Regions from separate parts of the Homo sapiens genome. Here all the other regions are linked to region 2. The links are contacts of gene promoters, found by promoter capture Hi-C in human tissues and cell types (Jung and others, 2019). All regions are on one chromosome and are shown on one strand. Each heading gives the region's core, a stretch centred on a gene start or on the middle of the fragment in contact. The rest is flanking DNA. Distances are from core to core; before and after follow the strand shown. Region 1 overlaps GPR180 (G protein-coupled receptor 180). Region 2 holds the start of DCT (dopachrome tautomerase). Region 3 has its middle 49 kb from the start of LINC00391. Region 4 has its middle 39 kb from the start of GPR180.

Region 1 (6,521 bases), core at 333-2,832, 140 kb before region 2:
GTGTCTCTCCTGCTCTATGAATATAAATGTGGACAGTTAACTTTTCTAGTGCAGGTGAAAAAGCATGTTTAGACTTCAGGAAGGGAAAAGAAAGAACATATTTTCTTTTTAAACACCTTACATAGAAAAGCATTCCAGCCTTAGAAATAATGGCAACATAATCCTGGGATTATTATAGTACCGGAACAAGACAGAAAATAAAAATGCTAAATATATTATAACAACTGTGGGTCAGTAAAGTTCCTTATGCTATCCTGTGTTTTGAATCTTAGTTTTTATCTTTCCTTCTTAGTATTAAAAAATTAAACATGGCATTCAATTTAAAGTTTTATTTATTTATAATATTTTACAGAATATCTTTAAAGTTTCTGACTTACAGGATAAAGTTTCTGACTCCATGAAGTTACAACTCTACCATGAAAAGAAAATCCTCAGGTTATTTACTGAGGAATGAGAATAATATAGAAGGAAGGGACTCTGGAAAATAAGATATATGTCACCAGCAAAAAATGTCTTAGGATTATTCAAAGTTAATAATCTTCCAGAAAAAGCTAACATTATAACGAACACAAAAATTATTTCATTGACATAACATATTAAACAAATTGAACTGGGTCTGTCCCACACTTTATTCACTGAATTTTAGATGATTCTTCCCTTAAAACTGTACATAAAATGCTTAAAAGATAAAATGCTAGCTCTGCACTCAGTGTTCTTTTAAACAAATCATCTCTTTAAAAAAGTCTGTTTTCTTCCTCTCTTCAGCTACCAATTTTTTGTTTTGCCACAAGCAAAAATTGTTTGTTCACTTTGAAATTAAACTCAATTTGTGTTCACTTTGTTCACTTTGAAATTAAAATCTAATTTTAAAACAGGTGGATACTAATTGTTAAATCTTATTATACTTAAGACTTAATAATACACATGAAAAAAGTATACACTGAAGAAGAAAAATACTCTTAATGAGCATACAACAGGTGGTGAACACTTGTAAGGAAATGTGTAAGGTTTAAGGCAAGCTTAAAGGAAGCAGCATTGGCAAAATAAAGTAGCAAGAAAACTTAGAGGCCAGCTTCAATAAATTTAGCCCCAGCTAAATGATGGTAAATGAGAAAGGAGGAGAGCCTAAGGGGAAAGGGTCCTTGGGTTCTGGGGCAGCACCTGGAACAGACATTCCCGCCTCCCCATGATCCTTGTCTCAGAGCCCCAGTGGTCTCCCACACTCACGTGTCTCAAGATATATCCTGATTAGTCTAAATCAATCAGAAATTCCCATACTCTTACCAGTAGGAGGTAAACCTAACCCTTTTGACATATTTGTCTACTTTTATCTTCTTTCTTTCATGTCAACTTACATTTCTCTTATGATGCTATGACCCAGTTCTGAAAAAGGAAATGTGATAGGAAGCTTCTGGGAAAGACTTCCTTCCTCCTAAAAAGTGATACTGAATATTGCAATCATCTAGACATGATGCTCAGAACTGCCACAGCTAACTTTGAACTTGAGGCAGCTAGCTTAAGAACAACACTGATAGTCTGAGGATAGCAGGGTAGAGAGATGCTAAATAAACCACCCTGGAGAAGCCGCAAAACTTCTTGTTATGTAAGATAATTCATTTCATTACAGTCTACACCACTTGCATTAGGGTTTTCTGTTACTTTAAGCCAAAAACATTCCAACATGTTACCAGCAACACATTACTGAAGCTAAATGGAAGATCCAACCCATTGTCTTTTGGGACATGGAGGAAAAAAGGGATAACACTAAAGAATGAACATAGCTGCTAGAATTTTAAAAACAGTGAGATGGCAGATGTGGCAGAGCCTGTAGTATTATTCCAGTGAAAACCAGTCTATATGCGCCTTTAGGTAATAACACTCTCAGGATTCTGGGTACTTCTTGGTCTCTAATTAGAGTACAAATACAGTTAACAAGGATTCTAATCTTTTAAAGAAGCAGTTTTATTTCATTGTACCTTAAAATATTATAATCCTATTTAGTACTTTGTCAATCGGCATCACACTTGCCTGACTTTGTTTAATCTAGACCAACTCTGTAAAATAGAGGATTAACCAAAGTCTGGTAGATATAAAATACATAATTGGTTTGAAAGAAAACAAATTATGAAATTTAACCAGAATAACCTGTAACATTAATTGCAACTATCTGCACCAGGTTACTCTAATTCAAACCTCTGAGACATGTGGTAATAGTCAATTTTCTGTAAAAAGCATAGCAAATCAATTTTTCCTACTTGTAGCAGATAATTAGGCAAACTAGCAGAAGTTTCTAAAATGAATTGAACATTTTCCCTGTAAACAAATTCCATACCTGAGGCTACAAAGTAGGAAGAATCCCTCTTAAGGCTGTATTTTAAAACACATTACTAAAACAATGTGAAATATGGACTTTTAGATCAGCGGTTCTGTACATAAGAATCAACTTTAGAGCTTTAACTGGCTTCCACTCCAAACCAAATCTATCTGAGTCTCTGGGTGTGAATATCTGAATTTTTGTTTTAACCCTCATAACCTTAAACCAGATGCATACAGTGATGGGTTAAGAACCACTCATTGATACTTCAATGTAGAGTTATTCACAAAAGCTTTTAAGCATTTTAATCAATAAAATGATGTGATGTTTAGAGGAAGCCACATAACAAGGCTGGACGCTTTTGGATACTTCTGGCACTTTCTAATGATTAATCCCCGAAGGTAAGCCTTGCATAGAATGTCATGCTTAATGAAAATACATACGATTATAGTGAGGTTTTGCCCCTTGTTTAAACATTGTTGCTGACATACTCAATGTAACTTCCCCATTGTAGTATAAGAAAGACAGCTTTTAGACACAAGAGTAAGCATAAAATCAAAATCAGTCACAAAAATCAGGAAAAGGTAGGTCAGAAGGAGACAAAACTAAGAACTGAATCATAACGGTTAGTATGCATCATAAAGAAAAGCTAGCCACAACTCAAGATGTTGAGGAAAACACTGGAAGACATAGGCAAGGTTCAGGACAAGGCAAGGTATGACTGGGATTCAGAGGTCCAAGCATGGCACAGGGCACAAATGTGATCACTTTATAGCCTGGGATAAAAGTTTACATGCCAAATTGGTGATGAAGAAAAAGACCAAAAATGGAAGCCTGGATAAGGAGGCAAGTAAAAGCATATCAGGATCCAGAAAAGTCTCATGGATCTACTCAATACATAAAACCACCTTTTGAGCCAAAGGACTACAGCCTGGAAGGCAGGAGAGGAAGTGCTAATTGATCTGTACTCCACTAGAGGCAGCAGGGTTTGCACATGCAACAACTGCAGCAGAACATTACTTCCTAGTGAGCCTTGACCAGTCCTAAAAATAAGGGTCATATGAAATAATGAAGTCTTACAGTTAAAAAGGACCTGAAGGCTGTGTGCGGTGGCTCACGCCTGTAATCCCAGCACTTTGGGAGACCAAGGCAGGCAGATCACCTGAGGTCAGGAGTTCTGGCCAACATGGTGGAACCTCGTCTCTACTAAAAATACAAAAATTAGCCAGGTGTAGTGGTGGGTGCCTGTAGTCCCAGCTACTCAGGAGGCTGAGGCGGGAGAATTGCTTGAACCCGGGAGGCAGAGGTTGCGGTGGGCCGAGACTGCACCATTGCACTCCAGGCTGGGCGACAGGGCAAGCCTCTGTCTCAAAAAATAAAATTAAAAAAAAAAAAAAAAGGACCTGAGGAGCAATTTAGTCCAACCATCCATTCAATGCTCTTAGTAGACCTGGGTTCCATCAATGCCTTTCCAAAATACAGAAAAAAGTTGGCATCTTTAAAAAGATTAAGGAAATGAAAGGACTAAATTAACTTCCAATAATGATCTATACTAGTCGAAAGTATCATTAATGAAATTTAACCTTTACATTCATCTGCATTCAGAAACAATTTGAGTAGCTTACACTATTTCATTTCTTTCACAGAAAGAACTTCAAATTAACCACTTTAAAACATTTAGGGCCAAGTGCAGCGGCTCACGCCTGTAATCCCAACACCTTGGGAGGCCAAGGTGGGAGGATTGCTTGAACCCAGTAGTTTGAGACAACCTGGGCAACATAGCGAGACCCCGTCTCTAAAAAATAAAAATAAAAAAAATTAGCACACCATTCTATCACTAGATATATGTTTTTTCCAAACAAAGGATATTTTTAAAAAGTTTATCCCTTAAAACATTATTTGTGACCTACTGTCACAATTCTCAAGTTGCTTTTTTAGCTGTGACAAATTTACACTTTGAACTAAACAATCAGTTTAAGCTAATGTGGCCTCACTCCTGCCTCACCTCCACCCACCCCACTCTATGGCCAATGGGATACAATGGAATTAAATTTTTCTCTTAAGCAGATTGACTCTTTCAAACAGCCAATGAACTCATGAAGAGGTAAACCCTTAATGCTTTTCTTTGACAGATGGCCTACAAATCCTTACTCCAATATGTTAATTTACAAATCAGTTATACTTCATAGCATGTTCATCATGATCATAAGAAGTCATTCATTTCTGCTGGGGGTGGAATCTTACCTCAGTAGGACAGAACATAGTTACCTAACATTTTGATGAAATATTTCATATGAGTACATCTGATTCTGAGAAGTATTATGGACTCTGATCATCCCTAAATTGTTGTAAGCTTCAATGAAGGCAATCCCTAAATCTGTTCAAACAAGCTAGTACAGAGTTACCCATACAAAGTAGCTGAGTTTCTAATCTCATTTAATCATTAACAATTTAAATTGTTTAATTTGTTACCATTTTTCTGTTTATAAAAATAATGCAAGGTTATCATAAAAACAAAAATGTTTAGAATGTATAAACTATAAACTACACAAGTTGTTTCCTGTCTGGAGCCAAAACAAACAAGCAAACAAACAAAACTATACAATTCTACCAACCCAGAGTATCAAAATAATCTATTAATATTTTTGTGCTTCTTTCTGTTTTATTCTTTGCAGGTTTTAATACACTCAAGTAATACTCTGCTTTTAAAAATTAATATGATGGCTATCAAAATGCTATAAGAAGATTAATTTAACCATTTCTCTAGTTTTGGAAACACAGGTTGCTTTCATTTTTGATTTTAAAAATACAACATGAATATATTTGTACATAAATCTTTTCCTGAATTTAGGATATATTCAAATACATATTCTTACCAGATTCTCCAGCACTAAAATGATCAAATGGATTCCCTTCGGCATCTGGGTTTAGTAACACCATTTCAAATGGGATATCTTCCACCTGAGAATTCTCCTTGTCATCTTGGCATGTATACTTGTCTGCATAAAACACATGCCACGTTTGTGGAGACGGAATCTGGGACACTGTCAGATTATGTTCGGTCTGGTTCATGGTCACTTTAAAGAGAAAGAAAACACCTTTTGTAACAAAATTCTCAAATGTGTTTCACTGTTTTAGTCATATAATCAATTTGAGGTTAGGACAATCTTTTAATTTTTATTGTCTCAGAAATCCAAGACCTTGTGTAGTATTTGGAATAAGTCTTGTAAACCAGATATTTATAGAATAAATCAGAATTTATCTGCAAAGGAGATAAAAATGATGTTTTTAACCAAGGAATCACTATAAAAGTATGACTATAAAACACCACAAGTAGAATGGCTTCACTGAAACTCTGAATTCTTTTTTTTTTTTTTCTTTTTGGTTTTCACATTCGTATTGGGAGCGATGGGAGGGGCCTCCTCTGTCAGTGGAGGTGCTCAGTTTCTTCAGCCACTCCAAGCTGGAGCTCTGGGGATCCTGGGGGTGGCCGGGCACATTGGTCATGTTCCCATCATTGCGGACGGGCAATGGGTAGTTGTAGGGCATGGTCTCGTAGATCATGATGAAGTACTTGGTGTAGGGGCTGAGTGGGGGCAGAATTACAGCTAGGCTACCAATGATGAAGGACACAACCAGCACTGGCTCCCTGGCCCAGGCATTCTTGAGGAAAGTGCCAAGTCTCGCCACCATCTTGGTCTCGGCGGCTGAAACTTTGAATTTTGATTTTCGATATTTTCACAGTTTCCGGGTTGGTTAATGACATTCAAAAAAATTATTGTGGTAAAATATACACAATGCTAAATGTATCATTTTAACCATTTTTAAGTGTACAGTCTATGGCATTAAGCACATCTACAATGCTGTGCAACAATCACAGTGACATTTTTGAAGATTACTCGAGTTAAATTTAAAATGGAGCATTCAACTTACAAAATCATTATATCTAAAAACTATGTATTTTCAAAAGATTTTCCAAAATCTTTTTCTGATTGGTTGTTCTTTAAAGGTGTACAAAAAGCAGAAAAAATAGAAATTACAGGAATGCAGAAGTTATTATACTGGATCAGGTCCACATGAAGTAGTATGATACAGTCAGGGGTGGGGGGTGTGTGGCATCATTCAGATGTATGTTTGAATCCTGGCTTCAATACTTACCTGTTGTGTGACCTTGGGTAAGTTACATAAGCAATGACACTCACTTTCT
Region 2 (7,218 bases), core at 1,495-3,994:
GGCTCTGAGCAAGATTATTCCAGACAGAGGGAATGGCAAGACAAAGGCCAAGGTGGAAATGAATGGGGGCATGTTTGAATAATAGTGATTGCAATAGTCTGCCATCCAGAAGAAGAGATTGAGAGGCAGGCGAGGGAAAAATCATGGAGGATCTTTTAAGCTAGTTCTCAAACTATCCATGGTAAATGATTAAAAAAGAAAAATGTTCCAGCCACAGACTAACACGTGATCCAACTGCACATGACTCATTGCATTCAGCCTGTGCTCCGTGATCATCACCATGCACGTTTGGCAACCTCACAGCCGGACTCTCCCCTCTTGAATGAAACTACTGATCGTATGCCTGAATGTTATCCCAATGTCAAATTGCTATGAAAATTTCCCAGTGTTGACTCTCAATTTCTATTCTTATTGTTCTTAACTTGATGTAAACCAGGAACACACCATTCACGGATCTGTTGGCCACACTTTGAGTAGCACATGCAAAGCACCTCGGATTTTACTTGAAGTGCATTGGAAAGCACACATGGGGAGGTGGGAAAGAGAAGACTCAAAGATCACTTGTAGGGTTGTGGTGATGCTGCTCTTTGTGGAGATGGAGAAGACCAATGGAGAACACATTTGGGAGGAGAGAGCAAAAGTTCTCAACTTGGGTGAGAAATATCTAAACCTTCAAGTAGAGAGGTCCAGTAGGAAGTTAGATAATATGAGTCTGGGGCTCACAACTGAGGTCAAAGTCAGAGTTGTAATTTTGGAAAGTCATGATAGCCTGCATTTAAGGCCTCAGACTAGCTGAGTTATCTAGCAAGTGTGGAAATGAAAGAAAAGAGATCCTAGGACTTCGACCTGGGGCATTCTGACATAAGAATTATTGACTCCATCAGTTTTAACATCCAAGAAATTTTATCTTAACATTTATGGAGCCCCAAGGCTTCACAAAAACCTGGAATAAAATTCCCAAGTGTCACAATGCTGGCATGAAGTGGCAGTCAATAAATATACATGGAATGAATGAATGAGCTCCAAAATAAAGGTTTCAAAAACCCCTGAGATTTTGCGATTTTAGAACCCCAAGTTTCTTCCCACCCATGATGTGTTAGGTTGAATGGTGACTTCCCCAAAAGATATGTCCATGTCTCAGAACCTGTGAATGTGACTTTGTCTGGAAAAAAGAGTCTTCTTTGCAGATGTAATTGAGTGAAGAATCTTGAGATGAGATCATCCTGGATTATCTGAGTGGGCTCTACATCCAATAAGTGTCCTTATAAGAAACAGACATGGAGGAAAAACACAGACAGATGGGGAGAAGGCCATGGGGCTGTGGCAGACATTGGAGCTGCGGTTTCAAGCCAAGGATTGACAGCAGCTGCCAGAAGCTTGAAAAGGCAAGGAGGATTCTAGCCTAGAGTCTCCAGGGAGAGTGCAGCCGCCTGGCTGACACACGCCAGTCCTGCCAACACCTTCATTTTAGACTTCTGGCCTTCAGAACAGTGAGAAAATAGATTTCTGTTGTTTTCAGTCATCCAGTTTGTGGTCATTTGTTACAGAAGCCTCAGGAAACTATTGCACATGGTCTCTTTTAGCTGATGCTGATGCAATATTTCCTTTGGAGCTCTGCTGTATTCTGATTCAGTGATTCTCAACTCTGGCTGAGCATTAGAATTGCCTAGATGTTTTCTAACAAAGGTTGGTTGGTGTCTGGAACATCCTCAGAGATTCTGATTCAGTAGGGCTGTGGTACAGGCTGATATTGGTGTAGAGTCAGACATAAGAATTGCCATTTAATTAGTCACAACAACTTAACATCAAGGGGTGGCACAGAGGTACAGGGGGTGGGAATACCTATATAATTGTTTCACCTTAGGAATTTGCTTTGAAACATAACAATATGTGTCTTTACATTCAAGTATATTCTTAGAAACTAGCTGAAGCCGTTTCGCATCCTTGTGGCACTAAGTCCTGTTTCCACTGTGAAACAGTTACCAAGACAGTCCTGTTTCCACTGTGAAAAAATAAATGGATGTTCTGACAGGTGGCCACCATTGCTGACCTGACCATTCTCCAGAAGCACCAGGAGGCATTGCTTTCTAGACTGAAGCTCAGTCATGCTTCACTTTAGTCTAATCAAAAAGATTTGCTTGCAAGCCTTCATTCCAAATGGTTCCAGTGCCTTCCATACAATCAGATAATGACAATTGTGAGTTTCTGGTGGCATGCTACTTCATGTAATTAAAAAAAAATTGCTGCGTAGATGTGCTGAATAGGAGAAGAGTAAGTTATTATTTGGAGGGAAGAGGATTCCCAATTGTGGAACAAAGCAATTCCTTGTACCCTGGTTCTACATAAATGTTTCTTTATTTTTGAAGTTGCATGACCCCCTGTTGTGGTCTTTTTTGCACACATGTCAGAAAGCAGCCATGAGTGCATTGTAGTTGGCAATGTGAGCTTCTGTGTAAAGGGTCTTTGACGAAGAGCTCACTGCATCTACTGACTCCCCAGGATGTCTGAGGTCACAAGTTTGGCTGGAGCACATGAGCCCAGATAAAGAAGATGGTTTTGCCCTCCTGAAATAAAGCCAGAAGTGATCTCCTTTATTGTGCACTTTGGGTCATGTGCTAATGATGAGGGTTTCTGTAATACTAATCCCCCTAATGAAGGCTTCTCCCAGCCCTTACACAAGCCCCCAAGGCCCCGTGGCTTGGCAAGCCAGAGAGAATAAAAGCAGCACGGTGTTTGGCTTTTGAACTGAGTTCAAGGCAATTAAAGTCAAGAGCTAAGGAGGGAGGGAGAGGGTTTAGAAATACCAGCATAATAAGTAGTATGACTGGGTGCTCTGTAAATTAACTCAATTAGACAAAGCCTGACTTAACGGGGGAAGATGGTGAGAAGCGCTACCCTCATTAAATTTGGTTGTTAGAGGCGCTTCTAAGGAAATTAAGTCTGTTAGTTGTTTGAATCACATAAAATTGTGTGTGCACGTTCATGTACACATGTGCACACATGTAACCTCTGTGATTCTTGTGGGTATTTTTTTAAGAAGAAAGGAATAGAAAGCAAAGAAAAATAAAAAATACTGAAAAGAAAAGACTGAAAGAGTAGAAGATAAGGAGAAAAGTACGACAGAGACAAGGAAAGTAAGAGAGAGAGAGAGCTCTCCCAATTATAAAGCCATGAGCCCCCTTTGGTGGGGGTTTCTGCTCAGTTGCTTGGGCTGCAAAATCCTGCCAGGAGCCCAGGGTCAGTTCCCCCGAGTCTGCATGACGGTGGACAGCCTAGTGAACAAGGAGTGCTGCCCACGCCTGGGTGCAGAGTCGGCCAATGTCTGTGGCTCTCAGCAAGGCCGGGGGCAGTGCACAGAGGTGCGAGCCGACACAAGGCCCTGGAGTGGTCCCTACATCCTACGAAACCAGGATGACCGTGAGCTGTGGCCAAGAAAATTCTTCCACCGGACCTGCAAGTGCACAGGTGAGGCCCATGCTCCAAGCTTGGTGGGGAGGGCCAGAGCTGGGGAAAGAGCTCCTTCTAAGGAAGAGATGAGACTCTTGACAGAGACTCTTAGATTAGGCTTTGAAAGGCAAACCAATGATGGTTTTGGTCGGAAGCATATTCAATAAGGCTGATGTGCTGGTTTATTCTTCACACCCTCTAGTACATCTAGTTATGAAGACTAAATAAATATGGCGTGGGCCAAGCCTGCTTATATGAATGCATGCCAACATACTATTGGCTTGTTTGTTGGAAGGGGAATTTAAGAGCTTAAAAGCGTCAGCTTTGAAACTCGGAGCAAGTCCTTTCAAGATGGATTCGGTGCCCTCTCCTGAAATGGGTTTGCACTTGTTGAAAAGGGATGGGTGAAGCTTGGCATTCGGAAGACAGGAGTCAAAGGCAGGTGTTCTGGTCTCAGCATTTCTCATGATTTGAACAGATCTCTCTCTCTCTCTTTTTTTTGGAGATGGAGTCTCGCTTTGTCACCGTGGCTGGAGTGCAATGGTGCTATCTCAGCTCACTGCAACCTCCATCTCCCGGGTTCAAGTGATTCTCCTGCCTCAGCCTCCCAAGTAGCTGGGATTACAGGCACCCGCCATCATGCCTGGCTAATTTTTGTATTTCGAGACGGGGTTTCACCATGTTGGCCAAGCTGGTCCCGAACTCCTGACCTCAGCAGGGTGCATGTTTCTCATTAAAGCTTATGACCAGGTTGTAACTTTGACAAAATTGTCGAGACGTGGCAAGACAGAGCTTTCTCGAGGAGCTGGGGGTGGGGGGGGCGGGCGGGGGGTTGTTATTAGATAACAATGGCTTTTTGTCACTCTTCTCTGGACTTGAACCGGACATCACAAAATTTGCTCAGTGTCCTTCCTTTAGACTCTGGTCTCTCTCATTACCTGTTGCTTTGACATCTCTGTGCATTTCTCATTCCTCTAGCTCTTTGGGGCTTTTTCAAATCCTCTTCAATCTTTCCCACCTCCAGTTTCCAGCAGCCATATGCCCTTCGGGAATAAACACTCAAAGCCTGGCAGGGGGCCACTGAAATACAAAAAACACAAGTGGCAACCTCAGGAAAGCCCTTGGACACTGTTGTAGGCTGGGTGGTTGCAGAAGACTTTTTCCTTTTAAAAATACTTTTTACTTCTCTTCTCATAGGATGCTGGAACATAGGAGGATATAGGTCATTGAGCTTCATAAGGGGTTGAATAGGTATTACTAAGGGAACATACAAAGGCCTGTGATGTTGGTGTAGGAATGACATTCGATTTTTTTTTTTAATTTTAACTTTCAACTTTATTTTAGATCCTGGGGATACAAGTGCAGGTTTGTGACATAGATATATTGCACAGTGCTAGGGTTTGAGATATGATTGATCCTGTCACCCAGGTAGTGTGCGAAGCACCCAGTGGGTAGTTTTTCAACCTTTGACCCCTCCCTCCCTCCCCTCTCTAGCAGTCCCCAGTGCCTATTGTTGCCATCTTTATGTCCATGAGTGCCCAGACATTAGATTTCTTTTTTCACATTAAGAGTTCTGGCTTTAGGCCTGGTGCAGTGGCTCACGCCTGTAATCCCAGCACTTTGGAAGGCTGAAGTGGGTGGGTCACTTTGAGGTCAGGAGTTTGAGACCAGCCTGGCCAACATGGTGAAACCTTGTCTCTACTAAAAATACAAAAATTATCTGGGTGTGGTGGCAGGCACCTGTAATCCCAGCTACTCTGGGGGCTGAGACAGGAGAATCTCTTGAACCCAGGAGGCAGAGGTTGCAGTGAGCAGAAATCACACCACTGCACTCCAGCCTGGGTGACAGAGTGAGATCTGTCTCAAAAAAATAAATAAATAAATAAATAGTTCTGGCTTTATAATCATTTTGTAGTAATATTTTTAATTCTGTCATTCAGAAGAATATCTAGGTCCTGGTTTTGCCCTGGGTATTAATCATGACAAAAATTTCAATAACATATTGGATATATATTATCCAGCTTTTCTAAGTTTTTTAAGCATTTGCTTCTATAGACCTTCTCTCAAAATTATCATGGTGTTTTAGACGAATGAGGAGCAGGTTGCTGGTGTGGTTAGCGTGATTGAAAACCACACTAACACAGTAACTTCTTTGTTCAAAACCCCAAAATACTTCTAGAACAATTATTTCTATGTCAATCAATGAAAAAGTGCTGGCCAAGCGCAGTGGCTCACGCCTTTGGGAGCCAAGCACTTTGGGAGGCCAAGACGGGTCAGGAGTTCAACACCAGCCTAGCCAACATGGTGAAACCCTGTCTCTACTAAAAATACAAAAATTAGCGAGGTGTGGTGATGGGCACCTGTAATCCCAGCTACTTGGGAGGCTGAGACAGGAGAATCACTTGAACCCAGGAGGTGGAGGTTGCAGTGAGCTGAAATCGCGCCACTGCACGCAGCCTGGGCAACAATAGAGTGAGACTGTGTCTCAGAAAAAAAAAAAAAAAAAAAAGAAAGTGCCAACACTTTCAAAAAGTTGTAAATCTGCATTGCATAGAATCCTGAGGCAGAGGACTTTAGGAAGTCACATATAACCATAAACTCTTTTTGTTACCAGCTTCTTCATATTTTTGCCATGGCTAGCAAGTTTTGTTTTGTTTTAGGTAGGGATAGAAAGAATAGAAGGGATCATTGCTATTTCCCTTTGGTAAGGAAATGTTTATAAATATTGCTCTAGAAGTAATAGGAACTTAGGATCATGGAGACCTACCTTCAAAAAAAAAAAAAAAAAAAAAAAAAAAGAGGCTCCCCCTGCTCTAAAAAGCCCTTGGGCCAGAAATAAATAGGGCCTGTTCTTTAAGTCCAGGCTGTAAGGAAGTCCCATGTACATAAGCCAGTCCAAAGAAGCAGGGCTTCCTCCAGGGAGATGGTCTGCCTCTCCAGCCATTGTCAAGGCCCGGCCTGGCCCTGAGGCCCCATCTCCAGGCTGTGGCTCACCTCCCCCCGTGATCTGCTCAGTCCAAACTCATCAGGAACAGAACTCTTTCCACACCTACATTTTTTTAAAGGTAACTTAAGATTTACTGTATCTATAAGTTCAATTTACTAGACTTTTAATGTTTCCCAGTTTTATTGAGGCATAATTGTTACACAGAACACTGCACATAATTAACGTGCACAATATGGTGTTTGGACATACCTATACAGTTGTGTTGCCATTTCCACAATCAAGATAATGAACATATTCATCATCTCCAAAGGTTCCTCGTGGTTCTTTGTTTTTGTTTATTTTTTGCTTTTGTGGTAAGAACAGTTAACATGAGATCTGCCCTCTTAACACATTTTTAAGTGCCGAATGCCTTATTGTTAACTATAGGCACTATATTGTACAGAAAATCTCTGGAACTTGCTCATCTTGTATCATTATAACTTTACAACTCCCTATCGCCCCTCCCCCATCCCCTGGTAACCACAATTCCGTCGTGTACTTCTCTATGTTCAGCTACTTTAGATGCCTCATATAAGAATAATCATGCAGAGTTTGTCCTTCTGAGACTGACTTATTTCACTTAGCACAAATGTCTTCCAGGTCCATCCATGCTGTCGCAAATGGTAGAATTTTTTTCTTTTTAAAGGCTGAATAATATTCCATTGTATTGTCATACCAACTTTGGATGGCTCTACTTATCTTGCTAGATGGTCTTTTTCTTTGAATCTCAGGGCACGAGACTAAGTCCTTAGTGACTGAGCTGGGAAGTTATTTTGTGTATGTCA
Region 3 (7,354 bases), core at 299-2,798, 180 kb before region 2:
GAAATAAAATGACAAGTATCAGAGGAAATGGGGGAAGGTACCGAAGGCAAGAGAGCAGATTTGTAGAGCTTTCAAATGAAACGTTATAATCCCTTTGACAATCCTGTTGACTATGAGCTATAGCAATAGGAGTACAACACAGAAAAAAAGATACATTGTGGGATAAACAGCTTCTTATAAGGTAAAACTGAATGGCCAAAATAGATTAATAAGGAGACACAATGGAGAGAAAAAAAGAAATGAGTCAGTGGCAATATAAGAAAAAGGTAAAAGTGAACAGAGGACAGAAAGGCAGGAAAGAAAAAAAAATGTAAATGAGTGAGACAAAAAAACCAAAAGACGAAAAAGAAAAAGAGAACAAGAGGGGGAAAGAAGTAATATTTTTTTTGATAAAAATGCACAAAAGGGAAGATGAACTTTGTTCTTTTTCTCTTTCTACTCTCCTCTCTTTTTCTGCTTTTCGCCTCGCAGCACGCCAGCCTAAGCTGAGAGCTGTAATGTCATTAAATTGCAAATGCTTTTTCATTTCCGACACACACTGTTTACTTATCTGGCAAAAACATATGTTGGAAGGAATCCGTTAAATTCTGCCCATTGCCTTGGGTAAAAGTGCAATGGAAACGGCCTCACCGAGCGTCCTCTTTCTTCTTCTTTAGCACTCCCCTTATCTACAAGACGGCTTCGCAGAAAACTGGCTAGTTCAATGAAAAATGAAGATACAGCGGGAGATTAGGGAAGAACACTGAGCACAAAATTCCTGGAGAGAGGGTCACTCCATTGCAAATGATTTCACTCCTCTAGATCTGCATAAATTACTATTTTTAAGGCATCTCCAAAGTCTGTATATTTTTCTCACTCTGTCAAACATTTAATTTCACGCCCCGTGTTCTGAATATGCTAAAATGCATATCTCTGATGCACCTTTAAGCCAGAAAAACGAATGCAAAATTGAAGATAAAATGATGTGATTTGCACTACAAGCCTATTACTTGAGGTATTTACATATAGTTTACCTCTGCAGTTCTGAGGATGATTTATTTAAAAAAATCTGGATTAAGCTCATATAAATATGTATAAATCTTTGTTTAGAAAATAGATTTTGCAGCTGTTGTGTCAAAAAAGTTCTTTAAGATTCTGTGAAGAATTTTCCTTTTAGCACGCTTTAAGAGGGGAAAAAAGGGGGACAGAATTTGACATTCTGCTTGGCGGGGAGAAAAAAGCCTATTCCACCATTCGGCAGTTATAAAGATTCCTTTTATTGCCCTTCTTTGCCCAAAGCAGCTGGTTCCTCCTTGCTCTTTTATTATACTCATTTCATTTTCTTTTTCCCCCGCTTTTTGCTTGGGACCAAATAATAGTGTCCTGGATTACAAAGCTCAAATTAAATATCAGTGTTTAATGACTGAAACAATCATGAGTTTCTGAGATGTGCCCCCAGTTCCTGCTCTCCTTTTTCCAAACAGGCTGCCTTCTGCTGCTTCCCACACACAGCCTCTGCACTGACACGGAGCCTTGGAACTGCTGAGGGAGCCGACTTCTAGCTACTGATTTGAAAATGATTATTAACGTAGGGCAAGCAAGATATCTGATCCGCTGGAGAAGCAATTCTAAAAACACTGGAGTTTTGTTTAAACAATCTCCACATGTGCATTTCAGCCCCCCTCTCATTTTTTTTTAAATCTAGAGTTTTGCCTCTTTGTCTGAAAAAAAAAAAAAATGCTTCATTTAGTCCGGCCTCTCACATCCTCCCTGATCCCCATCCCTCTGCGATTATTATGGGGGAATTACTCTTTGCTATTTTCTTGTTAGGCTTTGGGTTTAGGAGAATTTAGATAACAAAGTTGGCTAATTCAGGACTGAACACACATTGGACTCTGCAAATATACCACCCGCTACATGATAAGGGCAGGGCCCAGCTTCTGGGCTGCACCTGCTGTGATGCTGTGGGAACAGCTGCTTCTGGAAGCAGGTAGTGGGAACAGCTATTACTTCAAAGCCCACAATAATCCTTTCGCAATTAAAACAAGAAAGGGATGTTTACAGGCATTTGATCGCTTTAGGTGGAGATATGAGTTTGCTTACAAAGATTGAATTCCAGTTCTGGTGTGCTGTGCCTGCTTAAAGTTGACTAATGACGACTTAAAATAATGAAACTGCAGTCATTTTCAAAAGTTAAGTCATTCTTTTTGCACAAAATGGCTTAACGATCCCCCCTAGTGGCCTGACTCTTGTTACTATGATTTGTGAATACTCTCCTTTCCAAAACTGCCCTATTGGTTTGTTTATAGGTTCATAGCAAAGAAACTGCAGATAAAACCAAAGTCAGATCATTTAGAATTGAACTGAGCTTCCACTAAATTCCTCCTTTTTTGCTCCTAGACAGTGGCTATTGCTCTTAGAGCAATCAGACTAAAGATTCCCACAGAGCCAGCTTTATATCTTGAGGGTTTTCTTAAAACTGATGAATAAACTCAGGTTTCCCACGTTCACACTTCCATTGCTGAAATCAGTGAATAGCAGGGTGTAATGCACTCTATCTTTTCAATATTGCTGGTGGTAGATTTGAGTTTCTGAAGGGAAAATGAGTAAATCATAGAAATGTTCTATGTCTTGTTTTCAGGTAGGTTTGGCCCAAACTGGATTATTTCAATCCTTTGGGATAGAATTATCTTTAAATGATTGAAAAACCCTATATGTTTTTCAAGTGTAACCTCCAAGAAAATGCCTGGTCATCATTGCCACGCCAGTGTTTAATCCTTTTTCTTCACTCTGCATACAAAGGGTGGGCCATCCATTTACTTCAGTGTTTACAGGTGAGATGAACTCTCTTCTGCTTCCTTCAAGGCCCCTGTGGACACCCAAGGGAGGCTGTAACTGAGCTGAAGCCATCTGAATATTTTAAGCTCAGAACATGGAGACAGGGAGAGATTTCCAAACCCGAAGGCTAACTTCTTTTCCTTTGACCACGTTGCCAGTCACATTCCTCTTCTGGAGTATGTAGTTTTGGAATCTAGCACTTCCATTCATCATGGAAGGGGCTATACAGTTTTCCCCCTTAATAGCTCACATGGAAACACTATCAAGATTTCTTACATTACTGGAATATTAAAGAATATTAGATATGTACTAAATGTGCATCTACAAAAAATAGTGCAAAATAATCCTAAAGCCCTAAATCCTGACCTGCAAGAAGCTTATGTTAGAAAAAAGTAACATCAAAATGAATCCATTGCCAACCTCTGCACTTCAGCCTTGAAAACTTCCAGACCTTTCAGTCCTGTTTTCTTCCACATATTTAGACTATTTCCTTCAAAATCACTTGGATATGACTTCATTTCCTTCCTTTCAGTTTCTGCAATCTCCATCCTGGTCCACAAAATCATCATTTCTTGCTACAAATATCTCTAGGAGCCCTAGTACCTACTTTTATTTATGGATTAATTAATCTTAAACCCAGTGGCAAGAAATTTTTCCCTAACCATGCAACTTTCCTTCTTAGAAATCTGCTCTAGTTCCCAATTACATAATCATGAAACTTAATCTCCTTAGCTTTTAGGATCCCTAAAATGACCAGCCTTTTCAATCAATCAGTTAGTAATGTAATTGTCATTTCCTCTATCTGCTAGCTTTCCTTTCCCACCCTAGTTAGTTAAACCTGTTTGTACTTCCTTGAACCACCACTTGGGATTTTGCACATACTCAGACCTCTCCTGCGTAGGCAGATCAACCCTGAAGCTAACAAATCTTAAGCTTCAGGGCCTTGCTTGCACCAGCTAAGACCTTATGCCTAACTTTGCATTTGTTTTCTTAAGGAGGACCCTTATATAAATTGTATAAGCTTCACTTCCCACAAAATCAAGATCCACTCCAGGCTTTCTCCTTTATTATTTCACCTAGGTGTGGACATCTACTCAGTTCAGAATGTTCTTAGGATATACACACATGCCTGTTCATTCTCTCTCTCTCTCTCTCTCTCTGAACTATGTATTGCACTTGTGTCTGTTATCAGTTTTAGGAGCCTGAGGGTTTTCCTCCCTCCAATTGTGCTATCTTTCCCATTAGATGATATCATAAGCCATTCTAAAGTAGGGACTATTTCTTATTTATATTCTGTAAGAGTACTGAGTACCAGAATATAAGAGCATTGGTTTAATATTTTAACATATTGAACAAACATGTTTACCAACTGCTTCTTGAGGAAGCTTGAAAATGGTTTACTTATAAGTGTCTATTTTAAAAATTATTAGAGGCTAAACCTATAATTTCACAATAGCAAGATCATTCAAATAGAAATCAAAACAAACATTCATAGAACATGTTCATTGCTGTATCTTTAACCCTAGCATGGGCGGGTAATAAATACTTTTTGAGGCCACATGCAGTGGTTTATACCTGTTATTCCAGCGTTTTGGGAGGCTGAGGTGGGAAGATTGCTCGAGCCCAAGAGTTTGAGACATGCCTGGCCAACAAGGTGAAACCCCATCCCCACTAAAAAAAAAATACAAAAATTAGCAGGGCCTGGTGGCAGGCACCTGTAATCCCAGCTACTTGGGAGGCTGAGGCAGGAGAATCGCTTGAACCTGGGAGGTGGAGGTTGCAGTGAGCCCAGATCACACCACTGCACTCCAGCCTGGGCAATAGAGCGAGACTTCATCTTGAAAAACAACCAACCAAACAAACAAACAAATAAACTTTTTGAATAAATTATACATAAGTCAGGACTTGGAGTGAGAACAGAGAGACTTTCTCATTGGTTTATGTAACTGAAAAGCCAGAGGCTTTCACTGGCTCCCGGCACAGCTGGATCCAGAAATCAGTCTCTTCCCCCATTTGGTGCTTCTTTCTTCTGCATTGAATTCACCCTCAGGCAGGTCTACTTCATGCAGTTGCATGATGACCTTCAGCACCTCTAAGCATCCTATTGGTTCAGAAGCCACAGAATAAAAAATCAAAACAAAACTTTCCCAAAATTTCCAACAAAAGTTGCAAAATTGAGTCTCACTGGGCTGACCTTAGGCACAACCTAAGTCATGTGTCCCTGCTGACCTGTGCTTAGAATAGACATGCAACTTTGGGGATGGGGAGGGGAGTGAACCTCATTGAGACTATGGATTGAGAGAGTGGTTAGAGGTGATTCTCTAGAGGGAAATTGAGATGCTGCTTCCAAAAGAAGGGAACAGATGCTGGGTAGGCAAAAATGGCCATACCTGCCTCCTGGCCCTCACGTAGCTTTTGATCTAGTTGGAGAGGAAAAGACAAACGCCTGAAAAACTAAATAACAATATAAATAGATACGTAATAGATATGTAAGTAGTATTGCACAGCAAACAAATGGTGCACTCACATGTGTGAGTAGGAATGAGATCATCCTGAAGAAGTCCTTAAAAACGAATTCTAAAAAGCACCTATATAAAGTATCTTTGTCATTCTAGGCCACTTCCATTTCTTTACAGAAAAAAATGACGAATACTTAAAAAGAAACAAAAATTTCTATAAATTGATGGTTGGGGTATAATTTGGTAGAACCACTGTAGAAAATAGTTGGGGATTACCTCGTAAGGTTGAATATATGTGTCGTCTGTGACCCAGTGGCCCCACCCGTCAGTGTATGTCTTAGAGAATTGCTTTCATAAGTGTACAAGAATATCCAATGTCTTTATCATCAGCACTGAACATAGTCACAAGCCAGAGGTTGCGCCAGACATGCACAGCTGTGTCATTAGCCACTGTGTTCCATGCATTGGCAACAGCATATACAGCATCCTTCACACTAAACTCCTTTTGAAAACCTTCCACACCCACTTCTTTTCACTGCTTCTAGCATGCTATTCAATAAAGTGTTTTTGTATTTACTCCTCATTCACCTAAGCATACCCTGGTTTCATGGCTGAATTAATGCAGTCACATATGGGGGAAAGTACATGGCATAGACATTATTTCTGAGAATTTCAGCTGGAGAATGAGATTATTTGTCAAGGAACAACAAAATCTTGCAGTCACCATCCAGTCCAGCCTCCCTGCGGTGAGCACAAGCTACTGGCAAAAAATGTTTGTGAAACCAAAAAGAAAAAAAAAAAAAAAAGTCCCTGGTGACTCATACCTTTCTGTAAGCATACTAATGGACTGGTAAGAAATTCACTCCTTGAAAACAGCAAGGATGCAAGTATTTTACTATTACAGCAAGTTTACATTTATGCATGCCTGCTGCATTAACACATCCCAGCACATTTGTTCTGTCCTTGGCCTTCTTAATCCTGTAAGGGCTGTCTCATCAGCTGTAGTCAGTGTCTTTCTGGGGCAATAAAATTGAAACAGTGATGTTTCATCAGCATTACAGACTTGTTCAGCATCAGGTTTTCATCAGTGATGACCTTGGCAAACTCATCAATGAATTTCTTATTTTTATTTATTATTGTTTTTTAATTTATTATTTATTTTTATTTATTTCTCACTTTGTCATCCAGGCTGGAGTACAGTGGCATGAATACAGCTCACTGCAGCCTCAGCCCTCTGGGTTCAAGTGATCCTCCCAACACAGCCTTCCAGTTAGCTAAGAAGATGAGTGCCTGCCACCATGCCCAGCTGATTTCTTAAAATTATTTTTTGTAGAGACAGGTTCTTGCCATGTTGCCTAGGCTGGCCTCGAACTCCTAGGCTCAAGCAATCTTCCCACCTTGGCCTCCCAAAGTTCTGGAATTACAGGCATAAACCACAATGCCCAGCCCATGCATCAGGGAATATCTTTGCTGCTTCATCAGCAGCAGATGCTTTATCACCACAAATATTTAAATGTTTAATGCTGTGTCTTTTCTTATATCTGCAACCAGCCTATTGAATATTCACAAATCCCTTCAATTTTCAGTTCATCATGATAGATATTTGCTTGTTTCATGATCAGCATACCAATAAGTGGCATGTGTCCACCATAATGCAGACAGATCCACACTTTCAATACACCATCAAGATCTTCATTTTTAGTTTTAGGCAGTTTCTCTATTTTTCAATTTCTGTTCATCATTTTCAACACAGAACTTCAACAGTTCATCCTTCTGTTTCTTCAGGTCCTATATAGTGGTCACTCCAATATCATACTCTCCTGTAAGATGCTTCTCACTTACACAGCTGTCCAGTTTCTCCAACATCTTGACTGTCTATGCTACAGATAAACATAAATGCTTTTTCTTATCACTGTTACCCAGAGGGATTCTGCAGGCCTTTTTTTTTTTTTAGCACTTTCAACAATATCTTTACACTGTAGAACACAGAATAAGTTAAAAAAACAGGCCAGGCATGGTGGCTCACATCTGTAATCCCTGCACTTTGGGAGGCCAAGGTGGGCGGATCACCTGAGGTC
Region 4 (7,153 bases), core at 4,631-7,130, 160 kb before region 2:
TTTTGCCTGTTCTGGTCTTGGTTCTGCTTCTATGTGACCACGTGTTTTCAGCAAATTTTTATCCCTGGAGGCTTTAGATTCCTGGTCAGTAAAATAAGGGGATTATTTTAATAGAACCTCTAAGACTCCTTTTCAGATCTAAGATTTTTTTTCTTTTTTTTTTTTTGAGACAGAGTCTCACTCTGCCATCCAGGCTAGACTGCAGTGGTGTGATCTTGGCTCACTGCAACCTCTGCCTCCTGGGTTCAAGAGATTCTTCTGCCTCAGCCTCCCGAGTAGCTGGGACTACAGGCGCACGCCACCACTCCTGGCTAATTTTTCTATTTTTAGTAGAGATGGAGTTCCACCATATTGGCCAGGCTGGTCTCGAACTCCTAACCTCGTAATCTGCCCGCCTCAGCCTCCCAAAGTACTGGGATTACAGGCATGAGCCACTGCACCCAGCCCAGGTCTAAGATTTTAAGAATTGCCACTCTGATCTGATCAAAATAGTCAAATGTTTAGGATAAAATGTTTCACATCCCCTTGCTGCACTCTAGCACTTAGGGAAGATGCTAGGGCTGTCAAAGTACTCTTCTATGCACTTGTAAAAAAATGACTAGAAAAGAAAAAATAAAAAAATAAAAATAGGCCAGGCGCGGTGGCTCACACCTGTAATCCCAGTACTTTGGGAGGCTGAGGTGGGCAGATCACCTGAGGTCAGGAGTTCAGGGCCAGCCTGACCAACATGGTGAAACCCTGTCTCTATTAAAAATAAAAAGTTAGCCAGGTGTGGTGGTGCATGCGTGTAATAATACCAGCTACTTGGGAGGCTGAGGCAGGAGAATCACTTGAACCTGGGAGGCGGAGGTTGTAGTGAGCTGAGATTCCACCATTGCACTCCAGCTTGGGCAACAAGAGCAAAACTCCATCTCAAAATAAATAAATAAATAAATAGATGATAATCTTTGATTTTTAAATATTAAAATTCTTTTACAATTTTTCTTATTACAAAGAGTAAAACATGATCTTTGTAGAGTATTTGGAAAATGAAGAAAAGGATAAATAAGAAAATCTAAATTCCACCACCCTGAGATAATCATCAAGATTTGGTTGCATTTTTTCAGTTCTTATATAATACTATATATAGTAGCACAAAGTTGGAATTGGAGAGTATTGGCATATATGAAGTTTTCATTTTTTTTTAACTTAACATTTATTTTATCATGGCAATTTGTACATCAGCATTCTTCAAAAATGTCTTTGCAGGGTGGATTGGAACAATTTGGAAAAAGAAAATGTTGGATCCCTACCTGACCCTTTACACAGCGGTTCTTGAGTCTGGTTGTACATCTCAAGTCACTTGCAGAAATTCAGAAACAATACAGTGACCACACCCCACCCTCAGAGATTCTCGACAAATTAGTCTGGGATGGAATCTAGGCATGAATATTTTTTTTCTCATGTGATTCTAATGCATAGCCTGGATAAGAACTATTGTTTTATATAAAAATAAATTCCAAGTAGATTAAAGATTGATTGTAACAATTGAAGCCATGGCATTAGTGTATACAGATGCCAGTGAAGATGGAATCTTGGGTACTGAAGAAAACCAAACGCAGGAACCCCAGAGGAAAATATTCACATACTTGATTATATGAAAGCTTTAAATTTCTGTATGCCAAAACAATCATATAAAAAACTGAAAAGCAAATCACAAAGCAGGAAAAATATTTTCAATATGCATTGTAGGCACAGTTCTTAGCAAGTGTAAAGAAAAAGATGAAGAACTAACAGAAAAGGCCAAGCATACGCAAATAACCCAGAAAAAAGTCATTATATATAAGGAGATAAAAAGCATTTCCTTTTCAAATAAAAAATAAGCTGATCTTCACTTCAGAATCTATTCCTCCTTTTCTGACTCCTCCTCCGCCACCACCTCCGCCCCCACCACTTATAACCCAGAGGCTGTACAGTAGTGTTTACATTCCTGCCCAGAAGCTCCCTAAAAAAAAAAAATCAAACTCAAGGCAGATATATTAAAACTAAAACATGAATATATAAAGAAGAAAGTCACACTGGACGCATAAAGATCTCATAAAACCAGAGGCAAAGGAACGTAGCATCATGTTATTACTGCCTGAGTCCAGCTTTGCACAGGTTCAACTTGCAATAAAAGGAAGTCTTTTCAATCTGCTCTAGTGACTTTACCCTTATTAGAATGCATACTCATTATTTTCTGATTACTCCTCTACATAAAACATATCATTTTGTACCTTGGTTTCCACACCCCTAGTATGGTATTTATATTTTATCTCTAAAGATTGTAATAAATCACTTCAAACACAATAACCCATTTAAGAATGGATTTCATAGGCAACAAGGTGCACCTTTAGTGATGTGATTGCAATCATCAGATGCTCCAATTCTCCTGAAGCATGTATTATACAGTGTGTACACAAATGCTGCAGCAGTGTAGAAGAGGCTATTACAGGCTGAGTGAGTCAACTCAACTCAGTATGTACTTCCTAGTTTCAGGATGTATCCATAGGAACCCTTTGAAATGTTTTGTTTTATTAATTTGGCTCCTTTCTAGTTTTCACTAGAGCCAATGTTTTCGAGATAATGCAGTTTAGACATGTCACAGCTGTTGAAATTCAGCATAAGCTTGAGCTGACAGTGGTGTATCATCAAGAATCAGAAAAACTAAAACAACATTATGATAAAGAGGAGAAGTATGAAAAATACGGAGAAGACAAAGGGCAGGAAATATTGCCTTACCGACTTAAAGCAGAGCCCTGGAGGGAAACATCTGGTTTGGAGCAAACAGTGATTCTTTTAGCACACTGAAGAGTTCTCACTGGATAGAGTGAGGAGTGGCTGGATCTGAGAGAGGGGTTCCTGGAAGCTGAAGAGCTGGCAGGAAATGTTGCTCTCTAGAAGGGAATTCATATTTTAAAAGGTGAAAGACCTATGACCTTAAAATCTAGATAGAAGCCATAATCTGTAATTTTTGCTATGTGTTTAAAACCCAACCTTCCTCTGCCAGGAATGTTTTCCATCTTGAATTCTCAGGTTAACTCTATGAACCACTCTACATTCTTTGAAGAACAATCAAAGATAGAATTCACAGGGATTTAAAAGCCTTGTTAGTTTGGAAATATTAAAATTTAACAACTACCAGGTATCATTTATTTCCACAAAAGCTGCTGTCTTTACAAAATGAAATAAAACATAGTCTACTAATTTGACGAGGAACATAAGTTAGATCAATCTGTGGTGTACCCAGAAAGAAACCACTTTGCACTGAAACAATCTGTCTCTTACTTACCCTGGCCCCCTCGCCAAAAAAAAAAAAAAAAAAAAAAAAAGCCTTTTACAAACATTGACTTCTGAGTAAGTCTTAAAAACTAATCTTCTGAAAGATCTATAAGGCTCACAGGCTAGGCAAGAGATTTAAAAGTTTATTTTGTGTGGGAGTAAGTTGGAATGCAGTCATGTGTGAATTAGAATCTTGAACATATCCCAAACACACCTAACTTTCTGTTCTAACCACATATGTATGATTATTTAAAACAAACATTTCATCTCATGCACATTTAAATATTATCTCCACGAACAGACAGATTAGGAAGAACATCAGGCTCGCTGAAAATTTTACACAAAACCTTCAGGTCTATAAACAATGAGCATTGCACTGAGTGGGAACAAGCACCATACATAATCTTTACAACAATTCCATGAGCTCCTAATATCAGAACTCATCTCTCAGATCTGGCCACTTCTCACTCTATCTTGTAGGACCTTTTCCTGTACTAAAAGAATGACTGTTTGCTCTGAAACAGATTACAAATAAGAAAATTGTTGAAAAATGGCACAGCCAAGATTTGAATTCAGGTCTGTCTTGCCACAAAGGCCATGCTCTTTTCCAGTATATCATAATACCTTCTAATTGTGAAAGGTTTCAACATCTTTTATACCTAACCAGCCATATTTTACAGCACCTAGTGGCAATAAATCTGAAATATAAGTGATGTATAAAGCAAAAATTCAAACAGTACAACTTGCCAGGTGTGGTGGCTCACGCCTGTAATCCCAGCACTTCGGGAGGCTGAGGTGGGTGGATCACTTGAGGTCGAGAATTTGAGACCAGCCTGGCCAACATGGTGAAACCCCGTCTCTACTAAAACTACAAAAATTAGCAGGGCGTGGTGGCGGGAGCCTATAATCCCAGCTACTCGGGAGGCTGAAGCAGGAGAATTGCTTGAAACCGGGAGGCAGAAGTTGCAGTGAGCTGAGATTGTGCCGCTGCACTCCAGCCTGGGCAACGGAGCAAGACTGTCTCAAAAAAAAAAAAAAAAACAAAAAAAAAAGAGCTGATTTTAAATAGACTTTTCAAAGCAAACAGATATGACTCGAGAGTGAATCTGAATGTTCTCATTCTTCATACTGCTAGAGATTATACCATATTAAGTATCCGGATTTTTTTTTTTTTTTTGAAACGGAGTCTTGCTCTGCCGCCCAGGCAGGAGTGCAGTGGCATGATCACGGCTCACTGCAACCTCTGCCTCCTGGGTTCGAGTGATTTTCCTGCCTCAGCCTCCCCAGTAACTGGAATTACAGCCACATGCCACCATGCCCAGCTAATTTTTGTATTTTTAGTAGAGACGGGGTTTCACCATGTTGGCCAGGCTGGTTTTGAACCCCTGACATCAAGTGATCCACCCGCCTCGGCCTCCCAAAGTGCTGGGATTACAGGTGAGAGCCAGCGTGTCTGGCCGTTTTTTTAAAAAAATCTCATCAGTTTGGGATGATAAAACTTTCCAAAATGTATTGAATGATGGTTCTACATCAGGAAATCTATTACTGCTGCTCACCATGTTGATAGAACAAAAGAGAATAATTATATCATCATATTCTTGGATGATGAAAAGGCATTAAACAACATTCATTTTTTATTTTATTTAAAAAAATCATGAGTGAACTCCCATTCACAATTGCTTCAAAGAGAATAAAATACCTAGGAATCCAACTTACAAGGGATGTGAAGGACCTCTTCAAGGAGAACTACAAACCACTGCTGAACAAAATAAAAGAGGACACAAACAAATGGAAGAATATTCCATGTTCATGGATAGGAAGAATCAATATTGGGAAAATGGCCATACTGCCCAAGGTAATTTATAGATTCAATGCCATCCCCATCAAGCTACCAATGACTTTCTTCACAGAATTGGAAAAAACTACTTTAAAGTTCATATGGAACCAAAAAAGAGCCCACAATGCCAAGACAATCCTAAGCCAAAAGAACAAAGCTGGAGGCATCATGCTACCTGACTTCAAACTATACTACAAGGCTACAGTAACCAAAACAGCATGGTACTGGTACCAAAACAGAGATATAGACCAATGGAACAGAACAGAGGCCTCAGAAATAATACCACACATCTACAACCATCTGATCTTTGACAAACCTGACAAAAACAAGAAATGGGGAAAGGATTCCCTATTTAATAAATGGTGCTGGGAAAACTGGCTAGCCATATGTAGAAAGCTGAAACTGGATCCCTACCTTACACCTTATACAAAAATTAATTCAAGATGGATTAAAGACTTAAATGTAAGACCTAAAACCATAAAAACCCTAAAAGAAAACCTAGGCAATACCATTCAGGACATAGGCATGGGCAAGGACTTCATGTCTAAAACACCAAAAGCAATGGCAACAAAAGCCAAAATTGACAAATGGGATCTAATTAAACTAAAGAGCTTCTGAGAGCAAAAGAAACTACCATCAGAGTGAACAGGCAACCTATAGAATGGGAGAACATTTTTGCAATCTACCATCTGACAAAGGACTAATATCCAGAATCTACAAAGAACTTAAACAAATTTACAAGAAAAAATAAAACAACCCCATCAAAAAGTGGGCAAAGGATATGAACAGACACTTCTCAAAAGGACATTTATGCAGCGAAAAGCCACATGAAAAAATGCTCATCATCACTGGCCATCAGAGAAATGCAAACCAAAACCACAATGAGACTCCATCTCACACCATTTAGAATGGTGATCATTAAAAAGTCAGGAAACAACAGGTGCTGGAGAGGATGTGGAGAAATAGGAACACTTTTACACCGTTGGTGGGACTGTAAACTAGTTCAACCATTGTGGAAGACAGTGTGGCGAATCCTCAAGGATCTAGAACTAGAAATACCATTTGACCCAGCCATCCCATTACTGGGTATATGCCCAAAGGATTATAAATCATGCTGATATAAAGACACATGCACACATGTTTATTACAGCACTATTCACAATAGCAAAGACTTGGAACCAACCCAAATGTCCATCAATGATAGATTGGATTAAGAAAATGTGGCACATATACACCATGGAATACTATGCAGCCATAAAAAAGGATGAGTTTGTGTCCTTCATAGGGACATGGATGAAGCTGGAAACCATCATTCTCAGCAAACTGCCTCAAGGACAGAAAACCAAACACCGCATGTTCTCACTCATAGGTGGAAATTGAACAATGAGAACACTTGGACACAGAAAGGGGAACATCACACACCGAGACCTGTCGTGAGGTAGGGGGAGGGGAGAGGGATAGCATTAGGAGATATATCTAATGTAAATGACGAGTTAATGGGTGCAGCACACCAACATGGCACATGTACACATATGTAACAAACCCGCACACTGTGCACATGTACCCTAGAACTTAAAGTACAATTAAAAAAATCATGATACAGTAAAATTGACTTCTTTAATATACAATTCTTTGAATTTTAACATACATCTAGACTGAGATAACCACTACACAGTCAAGATAAAGAAGAGTTCCATCACCTCCCTCAAAACTCCTTGGTGTTACCCCTTTGTAATCATACCCTGTCCTTACCTGTAATTCCTGGCAACCACTGATGTTTTCCCCATTACTGTAGCTTTGTCTATATGAGAATGCCATCTAAGTTGAATCATACAATAACATGTAACTTTTTAAGACTAGCTTCTTTCATCCAACATAAGGCCTTTGATTCTCATACAAGTTGTGTGAATCAAGTTTCCTTTTATTACTAATAATATTCCTTTGTAGGGATACATCATACTTTATCAATTCAGGACATCTGGGTCGTTGTTTTTTATAATTATGAATGGAGCTGCT

Evidence for each region. Contacts are between HindIII fragments. The study calls those that stand out against the background at their distance.
Region 1: a contact is called between a fragment that was not itself captured here and the fragment with the promoter of DCT in region 2, in 5 of the 25 tissues and cell types used here (dorsolateral prefrontal cortex, lymphoblastoid cells, mesenchymal stem cells and 2 more).
Region 3: a fragment that was not itself captured here is called in contact with the fragment with the promoter of DCT in region 2 in 2 of the 25 tissues and cell types used here (dorsolateral prefrontal cortex and lymphoblastoid cells).
Region 4: a fragment that was not itself captured here is called in contact with the fragment with the promoter of DCT in region 2 in 2 of the 25 tissues and cell types used here (mesenchymal stem cells and spleen).

Annotation. Positions count from the first base shown.
Region 1 is chr13:94,611,060-94,617,580 of GRCh38, reverse strand. GPR180 (G protein-coupled receptor 180) reads right to left here. Exons shown (of 9, transcript NM_180989.6): 3 at 5,191-5,391. It also overlaps the pseudogene NDUFA3P5. Among named protein-coding and RNA genes, the nearest start is that of GPR180, 12 kb to the right of the region's middle. The HindIII fragment of the contact is 4,111 bases long and covers 1-3,637 here.
Region 2 is chr13:94,475,208-94,482,425 of GRCh38, reverse strand. It overlaps DCT (dopachrome tautomerase), which reads left to right and starts at 2,744. Exons shown (of 8, transcript NM_001922.5): 1 at 2,744-3,465. The coding sequence starts at 3,171. The HindIII fragment of the contact is 3,749 bases long and covers 1-3,671 here.
Region 3 is chr13:94,655,737-94,663,090 of GRCh38, reverse strand. No RefSeq gene overlaps it. Among named protein-coding and RNA genes, the nearest start is that of LINC00391, 49 kb to the left of the region's middle. RefSeq lists enhancers at 1-1,493, 1,822-2,323. The HindIII fragment of the contact is 4,944 bases long and covers 1-4,020 here.
Region 4 is chr13:94,637,146-94,644,298 of GRCh38, reverse strand. No RefSeq gene overlaps it. Among named protein-coding and RNA genes, the nearest start is that of GPR180, 39 kb to the right of the region's middle. The HindIII fragment of the contact is 7,470 bases long and covers 2,146-7,153 here.